3 separate regions of the Homo sapiens genome follow, and regions 2 and 3 are each linked to region 1. Evidence: promoter capture Hi-C in human tissues and cell types (Jung and others, 2019). All regions are on one chromosome and are shown on one strand. The core of a region is centred on a gene start or on the middle of the fragment in contact, and the rest is flanking DNA. Distances in the headings are between cores, read along the strand shown.

Region 1 (3,035 bases), core at 415-2,914:
AAGATCTTTTCTTCAGAGCATGTAAAGAGCTCCTAAAAGTCAAGAAAAAGACAAACACATGGTCAAAGGATATGACTAGAAAATTCACAGGATTCAAATGGCCAAGAAACATACGAAAACAGAAATTTGCACTAAAACAGCAGTGAGTTACACTTTCTTCCTTTGGCTTCCAGAATGCCACAGTAGCCTGGTTTTTCTCCTGCTTCAGGGGCTCCTCCACTTCAAGAGTCTCTATTTGGTTCTTTCTTTCTTTCTTTCTTTTTTTTTGAGATGGAGTCTCACTCTTTTGCCCAGGCTGGAGTGCAGTGGCATGATCTTGGCTCCCTGCAACCTCTGCCTCCCAGGCTCAAGCGATTCTCCTGCCTCAGCCTCCCGAATAGCTGGGACTACAGGTGAGTGCCACCACACTTGGCTAATTTTTTGTATTTTTAGTAGAGACGGAGTTTCACTATATTGGCCAGGCTGGTCTTGAACTCCTGATCTCAAGTGGTCCCGCCTGCTTCGGCCTCCTAAAGTGCTGGGATTACAGACGTGAGCCACTGCACCTGGCCTCTTTCTTGAGCCCTTAACCTTGGAGGACCCAGGGCACTGTCCTTGGTCCTCTTTTCTTCTTTGTCTACACTCACCCACAGCTTCATCCAGCCCCAGGTCCTCAGCCTGTCCCCCTGGGTCACAGCCTTCCCCTCTGCCAATGCTGGAGTTCCCCTTAGTGCTGCCCTAAGAGATTTTTAAAAACACAGCTATACATTCATTGTTTTAAGAGCTTGGCATTTTAATGTTTTGCTGCAGGAGAGGGAGGCTTCAGGGATTCACACTTATGTATATACATGATGTTATTTCTGTAAGTGCAAACACATACATTTATGGCTATATGCATGGAAAAGCCCAGAAAGTGACACACCAAGATGTTATGAGTGTTTATCTATGGGTTGTGGGATTACTAGAACTTTAAAAATGTCATTAGCACCATCAAATAGATTTACAACTGTAATGCTGATTTTAAAAATAACTTAAGTGTGTAACAATAGGTTACATACGCTAGTGTTCATTCATAGCTGGAATGCTACACAATCATTAAAAAGCGTGTTGGCAATGATACTTACCGATATGGCAAAATTCTCACTACTTGATGCCAGGTAAAACAGCAGGAGATGCCAGATATACAGTCTATACAGTCTGATGCCAGTTTTATATAATAAATTTTTAAAAAGAAAACGACATGCATCTAGAGAAAAGACTGGAAGGAAATGTATCAAAATGTTACCTGTGCATCTCTCCAGGTGACGTGAAAAGCGTTTTTCAACTTCTTGAATTTTTCAGGTTCCGCAAAAAAAAAAGTGCGTTATTTTTACCTTAATTAAAAAAAAAAAAAACAAACAAAAACCCTGGTTCTTATTCTTTTTGAGCAGCAAGTCGCTGTCCGCCGGGCGCAGTAGCGATGCACCGCGTCCCCGCCCGCGTCGCTGCCGGGTCGCCGGAGGCCGCAGCACGGGCAGGTCCAGCAGGCCGCAGCGCCCCCCCGCGGTATGTCCCGGCGGCGGGAAGGGGGTGGGCGCGGAGGGCGGGGAGGAGGCGCCGGGCGTCCCCGCGCTTCCCGCGAGATCCCGCTCCGCCCGCTCCGCCCCGCTCGCCGCGCTCCCAGCTCCCCGCGCCGCGGCACTTCCTGCCTTCCGCGCCCGCGCCGCCCGCCCTCGTCTGCGCCCGTCGCCTGCCGCCCGCCGCCCGGCGACGCGCCCGCCGGCGTCCCCGGAGGTGCCCCCGGCCCGGCCGGGTCGTCGCCCCGCCGCCGCGCCCGCGAGCCGCTTTGTCTCGGGCGGGGCGCGCGGGAGAGGCCGCCAGGTGCCCCCCGCCACGGGCCCGGGCCCCCCGCCCCGGGGCGGCGGCGGCGGCGCCGGGCCCCGGGGCGGGGGGCGCGCCGGGATGGGCCCCAAGAGGCGACAGCTGACGTTCCGGGAGAAGTCACGGATCATCCAGGAGGTGGAGGAGAATCCGGACCTGCGCAAGGGCGAGATCGCGCGGCGCTTCAACATCCCGCCGTCCACGCTGAGCACGATCCTGAAGAACAAGCGCGCCATCCTGGCGTCGGAGCGCAAGTACGGGGTGGCCTCCACCTGCCGCAAGACCAACAAGCTGTCTCCCTACGACAAGCTCGAGGGCTTGCTCATCGCCTGGTTCCAGCAGATCCGCGCCGCCGGCCTGCCGGTCAAGGGCATCATCCTCAAGGAGAAGGCGCTGCGCATAGCCGAGGAGCTGGGCATGGACGACTTCACCGCCTCCAACGGCTGGCTGGACCGCTTCCGCCGGCGCCACGGCGTGGTGTCCTGCAGCGGCGTGGCCCGCGCCCGCGCGCGAAACGCTGCCCCCCGCACCCCGGCGGCGCCTGCCAGTCCGGCCGCGGTGCCCTCGGAGGGCAGTGGCGGGAGCACTACTGGTTGGCGCGCTCGGGAGGAGCAGCCGCCGTCGGTGGCCGAGGGCTACGCCTCGCAGGACGTGTTCAGCGCCACCGAGACCAGTCTATGGTACGACTTCCTGCCCGACCAGGCCGCGGGGCTGTGCGGAGGCGACGGACGGCCGCGTCAAGCCACCCAGCGCCTGAGCGTCCTGCTATGCGCCAATGCCGACGGCAGCGAGAAGCTGCCCCCGCTGGTGGCCGGCAAGTCGGCCAAGCCCCGCGCAGGCCAAGCCGGCCTGCCCTGCGACTACACCGCCAACTCCAAGGGTGGTGTCACCACCCAGGCCCTGGCCAAGTACTTGAAGGCCTTGGACACCCGAATGGCTGCAGAGTCTCGCCGGGTCCTGCTGTTGGCCGGCCGCTTGGCTGCCCAGTCCTTGGACACCTCGGGCCTGCGGCATGTGCAGCTGGCCTTCTTCCCTCCCGGCACCGTGCATCCGCTGGAGAGGGGAGTGGTCCAGCAGGTGAAGGGCCACTACCGCCAGGCCATGCTGCTCAAGGCCATGGCCGCGCTAGAGGGCCAGGATCCCTCAGGCCTGCAGCTGGGTCTCACGGAGGCCCTGCACTTTGTGGCTGCCGCCTG
Region 2 (3,040 bases), core at 515-3,014, 140 kb after region 1:
TTTCCTGCCTGAAGGTGGATTTAAGACTTCCTCAATTGCCACCGTTTTTTTTTTTTTTTTTTTTTTTTTTTAAGGCTTTGCTAATGGTTTCTTAAATTTACTACATCTTTATTTATTTCCAGGCAGGTCCAGGGTCAGTGACTACATTCATGGTTTGTTCCTGGAAACAGTTCTCATGTCAGCTTTTTCTTTGCTTCCTTAACCACGTGCCCCTCCCTCAAGCTGGTGGCTTTGCAGTTTCCATGCTCCAGTGGGAAGACCACACCCTTCATTGGATGGTCACCATGAGGCCCAGTCACTGTGTTCAACTAAGTCTCATGGGGCCTTTGTTGCTCACCTGCACCTCTTACTGGTTGGAGACTAGAAGCAGTTGGCTTTTCCAGAATTGCAAGGCCCTGGTTAACATCTTTCCATCTTTTTCCCTTCTGCTTGTAAACTGGCTAATTCTTTCTTGAAGTAAACTTTTTCTCGTGATGCCTCGCCAAAAGCAGCCAGTAACAATCAACACATATTTGTTGTTGTTGTTGTTGTTTATTCCCCTCAAGTCAAAAAGTCAGCAGACATGGAGTTTGTTTTCCGAGTTATCGAGTGAAACGGCCTTACCAGATGTTTTGCTCCGCCTGGCAGGGACCTCAGTTGTCCTGCCAGCTGCACCTGTCTTATCACTGCTCGCCACCTGGCCACACGCTGAGCCAGTGCCATGTACTTAAGGGTTTGGTTACATGTGCACTGCACTTCAAAGTGCTGATTTGTATATTAGTGAGAATAAGAAAAGCTAACTAGTGTAACAAAGCCCCAAATCTCAGTGGATCAGCAGAGTGAGTTTGCTTTCCAGTGATGCAAAGGCCAGCACAGCTCTTACTGATCAGGCGGCCGGCCTCTAAGGGGTGACTCAGGGACCCACAGTCCCTCCAGTCTTTAACATGTGATCCGTAGGAGAGTCCCCTGTGGGAGCATTTGTGTGCCACGTTTGGAATTGGTGCCCATCACTTCTTCCAACCTTTCCTTGGCCATGGCTTAGCTTGGTCCCAACCTAACTGCAGGGAGGCTGGGAAATGATGAGCTGTGGGCCCAGTAGGTTTGGTAAACACAGCATTGTCTCTGCCACAGTACCACCAAATCACAGGGTTTCTATCCTGTTACTGTTGGTGGCTCTCATAACCCTCCCTGGAAGAGTTTCAAGGTCCTTCTCAACTTGTTTGCAGCCACTAGTCCAGCCATTTCCCTCCCTAAGCCAGACCTGAGCTCTGGTAGGCAGGCCTCCTCCAGGCTCCTGCCCTCACCTCAGGCCCTGGCCCTAGTACCCTGCCATCTTCCCCTACAGGAGTGACCGTCTTGTGTTTCCTCCTTCTTTCAATGACCTCATCCTTCTGGAAGGAACTGCTAGCACTGGGAATCTGCACTCTGCACTGAAATACATGACTCTGACCCATTCTGAGGGCAGGAGCCAAATAAAAGGGGGCAGGACACACAGGAGGCCCCCAAACAAGGCCTTGCCAATGGGAGTAACTTCCTCAAAACTTCAAGGCCGAGGAAAACACTGGCCACGGCTGAGACCTGTCAGCACACCTGAGATTTAGCAGTTTGGAGACAACCTAGAGGACATTCAGGAGCCTGTGAGGAGAGCGCAAAGTGGAGGGATAACAGCACCACTGGAGACAGTGGTGTGGTTAGTGGAGCAGTGAGACGGCTGTCCATACCTCACTGCTCAGATCTGTCCCTGCCCCCACGGGCCCAGCTGCCCTGTAGGCACACAAAGGCTGTGTGGAAGGTCTGTGGCTCACAAGCTGCCTGGAGGGCTGTCTGAGGTACCTGCCAGGGGTTTTCACCCTCACCTCCGTTAACTGTCAAGTGCTCCCTCTGACGCAGTCTGAAAACTGGTAAACGCTTTTTTTTTTCCCTTAAGGTTCTAATGACCAAAATGTAAATATAGGCAAAACAATGCAAAATCAAAATGAAACACTCAGAACAAAAGCCACATTTTTACCAGATCTACTTTTATTTCAGAAGGAAGTTTGTATTATAGTATTTACTTTTGTTTATATACAAGTTCTTCACATTTGTGTTTAAAATGCACAGACCTCCCTTAGTTCTCTTGTTCCTGCTTAAATTAGCTGTTATTTTACAATACAAAAAATACCAAAAAATTGCAGTCCTAAATGTATGTATAACACCCACAATCCCCGCGATGAAATAGTTTACAATACTTACTCCATATTTACATGAGTGTAATAGATGCTAAATTATACATATTAACAAACTAAGCTTGAATCCAAACAAACGAAATCGTAAATAACTATAAAACAAAAACATTTCCAGAGCCAGAATTAGTTCAACGAAACAGGCTTCACTAGTGTTTAGAATGTTTTGTGCACAAATTCAGTTACTGAAAATCAATTCCATTACTGCCTTTAAAAGATGAGGTGCCAATTTTCCTCTCCATTTCAAAACATCTCCTTGTAGGCAGGGTGTTTGACTCTCATCAAGGGGCAATATCTCTTGGTGGGCCTGGCTATCTAGAAACCACCGCAATGGCTGGAGCCAAGTTTGGTCAATGGGGTAAACATTTCAGAAGGTAGGCAGGGCATGCCCTGAGGCCAGGAGGCCTCTGCCGTCCTGGCTGTGTCCTCAGGATGGCCAATTCTCACAGAAACCACCACAAGGAAAGATCTCCTGGGATGACAGGGGTGTGAGGACTTGGATTTTGTTTTAATTCTAAAATCTATTTTTACATCTCAGTCACTACCCTAGCATTAGCTTAAGTTAGTGTTTAGCAAATACTTGTTGAATGGATGGATGAATAAATGAAATGGAAGGATCAAAGATGTTCATGAAAACACCACCATCTCCCAAGGAAGTGAATCAGCCCCTGGCCCCAGTACACCCCATTAAATCAAAGGAGCAGGATTTGCACTGGAAGGTAAAATGCCTCTTCCCACCAGCAGTGCCCTGCTCTTTTTATTTCCCAGGTGTCTCCAGTCTTGAATGGCAGGACTTACCCACGGGTAGTCCAGTACTTTCCTTCTGCTGACAGTCTTCT
Region 3 (3,306 bases), core at 239-2,738, 180 kb before region 1:
TTTCACTGATACCTCTTTGGCTGGAAAAGGTAGGAGTGCTTGTTGCCACTTGGTGGTGGTAAAATCCCGATTCTTCACGAGATCCTCCTCTGTCATCACCCCATTGAGGAGGAGTATAGTCACTTTGTTACTGCTGGATAGGGGTAGAAGTCAGGGTCCACATGTAGTCTCTACTGATATCACTGAGGTGGAGCCTCATTTTCACCATGTTGTGTAAAAATTCCAGCTGGCCAACATGGTGAAACTCTGTCTCTACTAAAAATACAAAAATTAGCTGGGCATGGTGGTGGGCGCCTGTAGTCCCAGCTACTCGGGAGGCTGAGGCAGGACAATCGCTTGAACCTGGAAGGCGGAGGTTGCAGTGAGCCAAGATCACACCACTGCACTCCAGCCTGGTGACAGAGCAAGACGCCATCTCAAAAAAAAAAAAAAAACAGATTTCAGCTTCCTACTTGGCCTTTTCTAACACTATCCCAGCAAGATGGCTGGGGGGCATCTCGTTACATCCTGGCAAGAGTGAAAATCTAGGCTCTGCCTTCAGCCTTTGCTGGCATGTCTATAGGGGTGTGGCCATAGTTTTTTCTGGGTTGTTTAGCTGAAGTAGGGCAATTCTTGTTTAAAAGCTTTCAGTCTTGTTAACTACTCCTTTTGTCATCCTTTGGCTAGAGAGAACACGTTCATTAGGGCTTTTTTTTTTTTTTGTCTTCACCTGTTGACATTCTTGTTTGCCAACTTTGCCAGCTCTAAGTCTGGGATATAGGAGACAAAAACAAAGCCCAGAGAACTCGTTAACATGTGGTTCCTTGGGTCCCCAGGTCCCTAGTTAGTGTGCTACCTTCTGTCCAACTTAATGTCCATGGTTTTTAGTTATATTTAGCTGGATAAATAGGGAAATGTATGTCTATGCCATCTTTCTGGAGTCAGAAGTCTACCTGACTGTCTTTTAATGGAGATACAGACAGTGATTCCATTATCTTTTATTGTTGCATTTTAGTTAATAATGAAAACTAACATTTCTCAAGTACACAGTATGTGCCCAGGTACTGTTCTAAGTGCTTTAAGTGCTTTTCGTGTGTTGAGTCATTTAATTCCCTTAAAACTTTATGAAATAGTTACTAGTATTATTCTGTCTTATCAGATGAGGAAACCGAGACATAGAAAAGATAAGAAACAAGCCCCAAATTACTGACAAATCCGTGGTTAAACCCCTGGCTCTCTGACTCCATAAGCCCACTCTAATACTCATGGCCTAGGATAAATCTCAAATCTATATGCTTTCCATTATAACAACTTTTTTTTTTTGGAAACTTATCACAGTTTTTCTATCCTAGAATTCAGAAATTTTACTAGGATCTGTCCAAATATAGGTCTTATTTTTAAAATAATTCTCTCTAGAACCCAGTGTATCCATTTCATCAGAAAGCTTAGGTCTTTCTACTGATCAGTGACATGTTTTTAAAATTTTTAATCTTTCCTCTCATCCACCCACTCAAGAAAAGATTTTGCAGAAGGTGTTTCATGTGGTCATAAAGATACTCAATAAATAACAAAGAAGTTAGTTCCTTCTAATATGTCAAAAGCTTTCTCTTTTAGAGATAGTCTTGCTTTGTCACCCAGGCTGGAGCGTAGCAGTGATATCATAGCTCACTGTAACCTTGAATTCCTGGGCTCAAGTGATCCTCCCATCTTAGCCTCCAGAGTAACTAGTACTACAAGCACATGCCACCATGCCCAACTAATTTTTTAATTTTTATTTTTATTTGTACAGGTGGGGTCTCCCTGTGTCTCCCAGGCTGGTCTCAAATCCCTGGCCTCGAGCAGTCCTCCCACCTCAGCCTCCCAAAGTACTGGGGTTACAGGCATGTACCACTGCACCCAGCCCCTTTCTGAGCATTTTTTTTTTCCTTTGAGATGGAGTCTTGCTCTGTCCCAGGCTGGAGTGCAATGGTGCGATCTCAGCTCACTGCAACCTCTGCCTCCCAGGTTGAAGCTAATCTGCCTCAGCTTCCTGAGAAGCTGGGATTACAGGCGCACGCCACCAGGCCCATCTAATTTTTGTATTTTTTAGTAGAGACGGGGTTTCACCACATTAGCCAGGCAGGTCTCGAACTCCTGACCTCGTGATCTGCCCACCTGGGCCTCCCAAAGTGCTGGGATTACAGGCGTGAGCCACCGCACCCAGCCACCTGTTACATTTTTTATTCTTTCTTTCTTTTTTTTTTTTTTTTTTTTTTGTTGCCAGGCTGGAGTGCAGTGGCGCAATCTCGGCTCACTGCAACTTCCGACTCCATGGTTCAAGGGATTCTCCTGCCTCAGCCTCCCGAGTAGCTGGGATTACAGGCATGCGTCACCACGCTCAGCTAATTTTTGTATTTTTATAGAGACAGAGTTTCACCATATTGGCCAAGATGGTCTCGATCTCCTGACCTCGTGATCTGCCCGCCTCAGCCTCCCAAAGTGCTGGGATTACAGGCATGAGCCACTGCACCCGGCACTTCTGAGCATTTTTGAAGCAAAACTAGAATATTGACTCCTGGGAAGATGATATGGTATTGTCCAGGGAACAGGAACTGGTCTAAGAAGAATGTGGCTACCAAGCATGCTTTGAGGAATGCTACTGCAGCCCCATTTAGCTGTGGTGTATTGTGTTAAACTCAGGTCATGTAGGCATCCAAATCTCAAGTAATCTGTCCCTCTTAGAACTTCTTGGTTCTAAGATTGCTGATAAAATACTCAAATCTTCTTGTCTTTTTTTTTTGTTTTGGTTTGATTTTAATAAACTGACTGGGTGGTTTGAAATTTAGGCTGAGGCTAGAGATTTCAAGAACTGAATTTACATAAGGGGAAAAAAAGGCTTTCACGTGAATGAAGTTGGAAATGCCAAGTAAGCTACAACAGTGTACTGTATGTTCTATTTCTCCTCTTCACTCCCACAAGGAGCAATTACTAAATAACTTATATTTGTAAGACTTCAATAGCAAAGAATGCATATTACTAAGATGATATGTAGCCTTTTATCAATTTATTTTAAAAGATTAATACTTCTGGTGAAAATACATTATGATAAAAATTTTGTAAAAACTAATGTGTCACTGGATCAGGATTAACATCTTGGAATACTCTACCATCTACTTAAAATTGTTGGGCCAACATATCAATTGTAGTGAAGCCATTTTATTTACTAAAACAAAGAGAGAAAAATTCCTAAAATATATTCGCATCAACATATCTTCTACCAGCCTGGATCCCTCTGGTAATTGGGATTTATTAAAAGGCCCTGCCAGGTAGTGAGGACTCACAAAAGTC

What was found. The method cuts DNA at HindIII sites, captures the fragments that hold promoters and counts their contacts. A contact is called where the count stands out against the background at its distance.
Region 2: a contact is called between a fragment that was not itself captured here and the fragment with the promoter of CENPB in region 1, in 6 of the 25 tissues and cell types used here (bladder, dorsolateral prefrontal cortex, lymphoblastoid cells and 3 more).
Region 3: a contact is called between a fragment that was not itself captured here and the fragment with the promoter of CENPB in region 1, in 5 of the 25 tissues and cell types used here (dorsolateral prefrontal cortex, liver, lymphoblastoid cells and 2 more).

Annotation. Positions count from the first base shown.
Region 1 is chr20:3,785,369-3,788,403 of GRCh38, reverse strand. CENPB (centromere protein B) reads left to right here and starts at 1,664. Exons shown (of 1, transcript NM_001810.6): 1 at 1,664-3,035. The coding sequence starts at 1,921. It also overlaps a transcript of CDC25B not described here. RefSeq lists a silencer at 1,363-1,712 and enhancers at 1,548-2,257, 2,153-2,292, 2,258-2,968. The HindIII fragment of the contact is 8,329 bases long and covers 1-1,937 here.
Region 2 is chr20:3,650,059-3,653,098 of GRCh38, reverse strand. It overlaps ATRN (attractin), which reads right to left. Exons shown (of 29, transcript NM_139321.3): 29 at 1,981-3,040. Among named protein-coding and RNA genes, the nearest start is that of GFRA4, 12 kb to the left of the region's middle. The HindIII fragment of the contact is 6,966 bases long and covers 1-3,040 here.
Region 3 is chr20:3,966,902-3,970,207 of GRCh38, reverse strand. All of the region lies in intron 1 of RNF24 (ring finger protein 24), which reads left to right. Among named protein-coding and RNA genes, the nearest start is that of RNF24, 47 kb to the left of the region's middle. The HindIII fragment of the contact is 3,961 bases long and covers 1-3,306 here.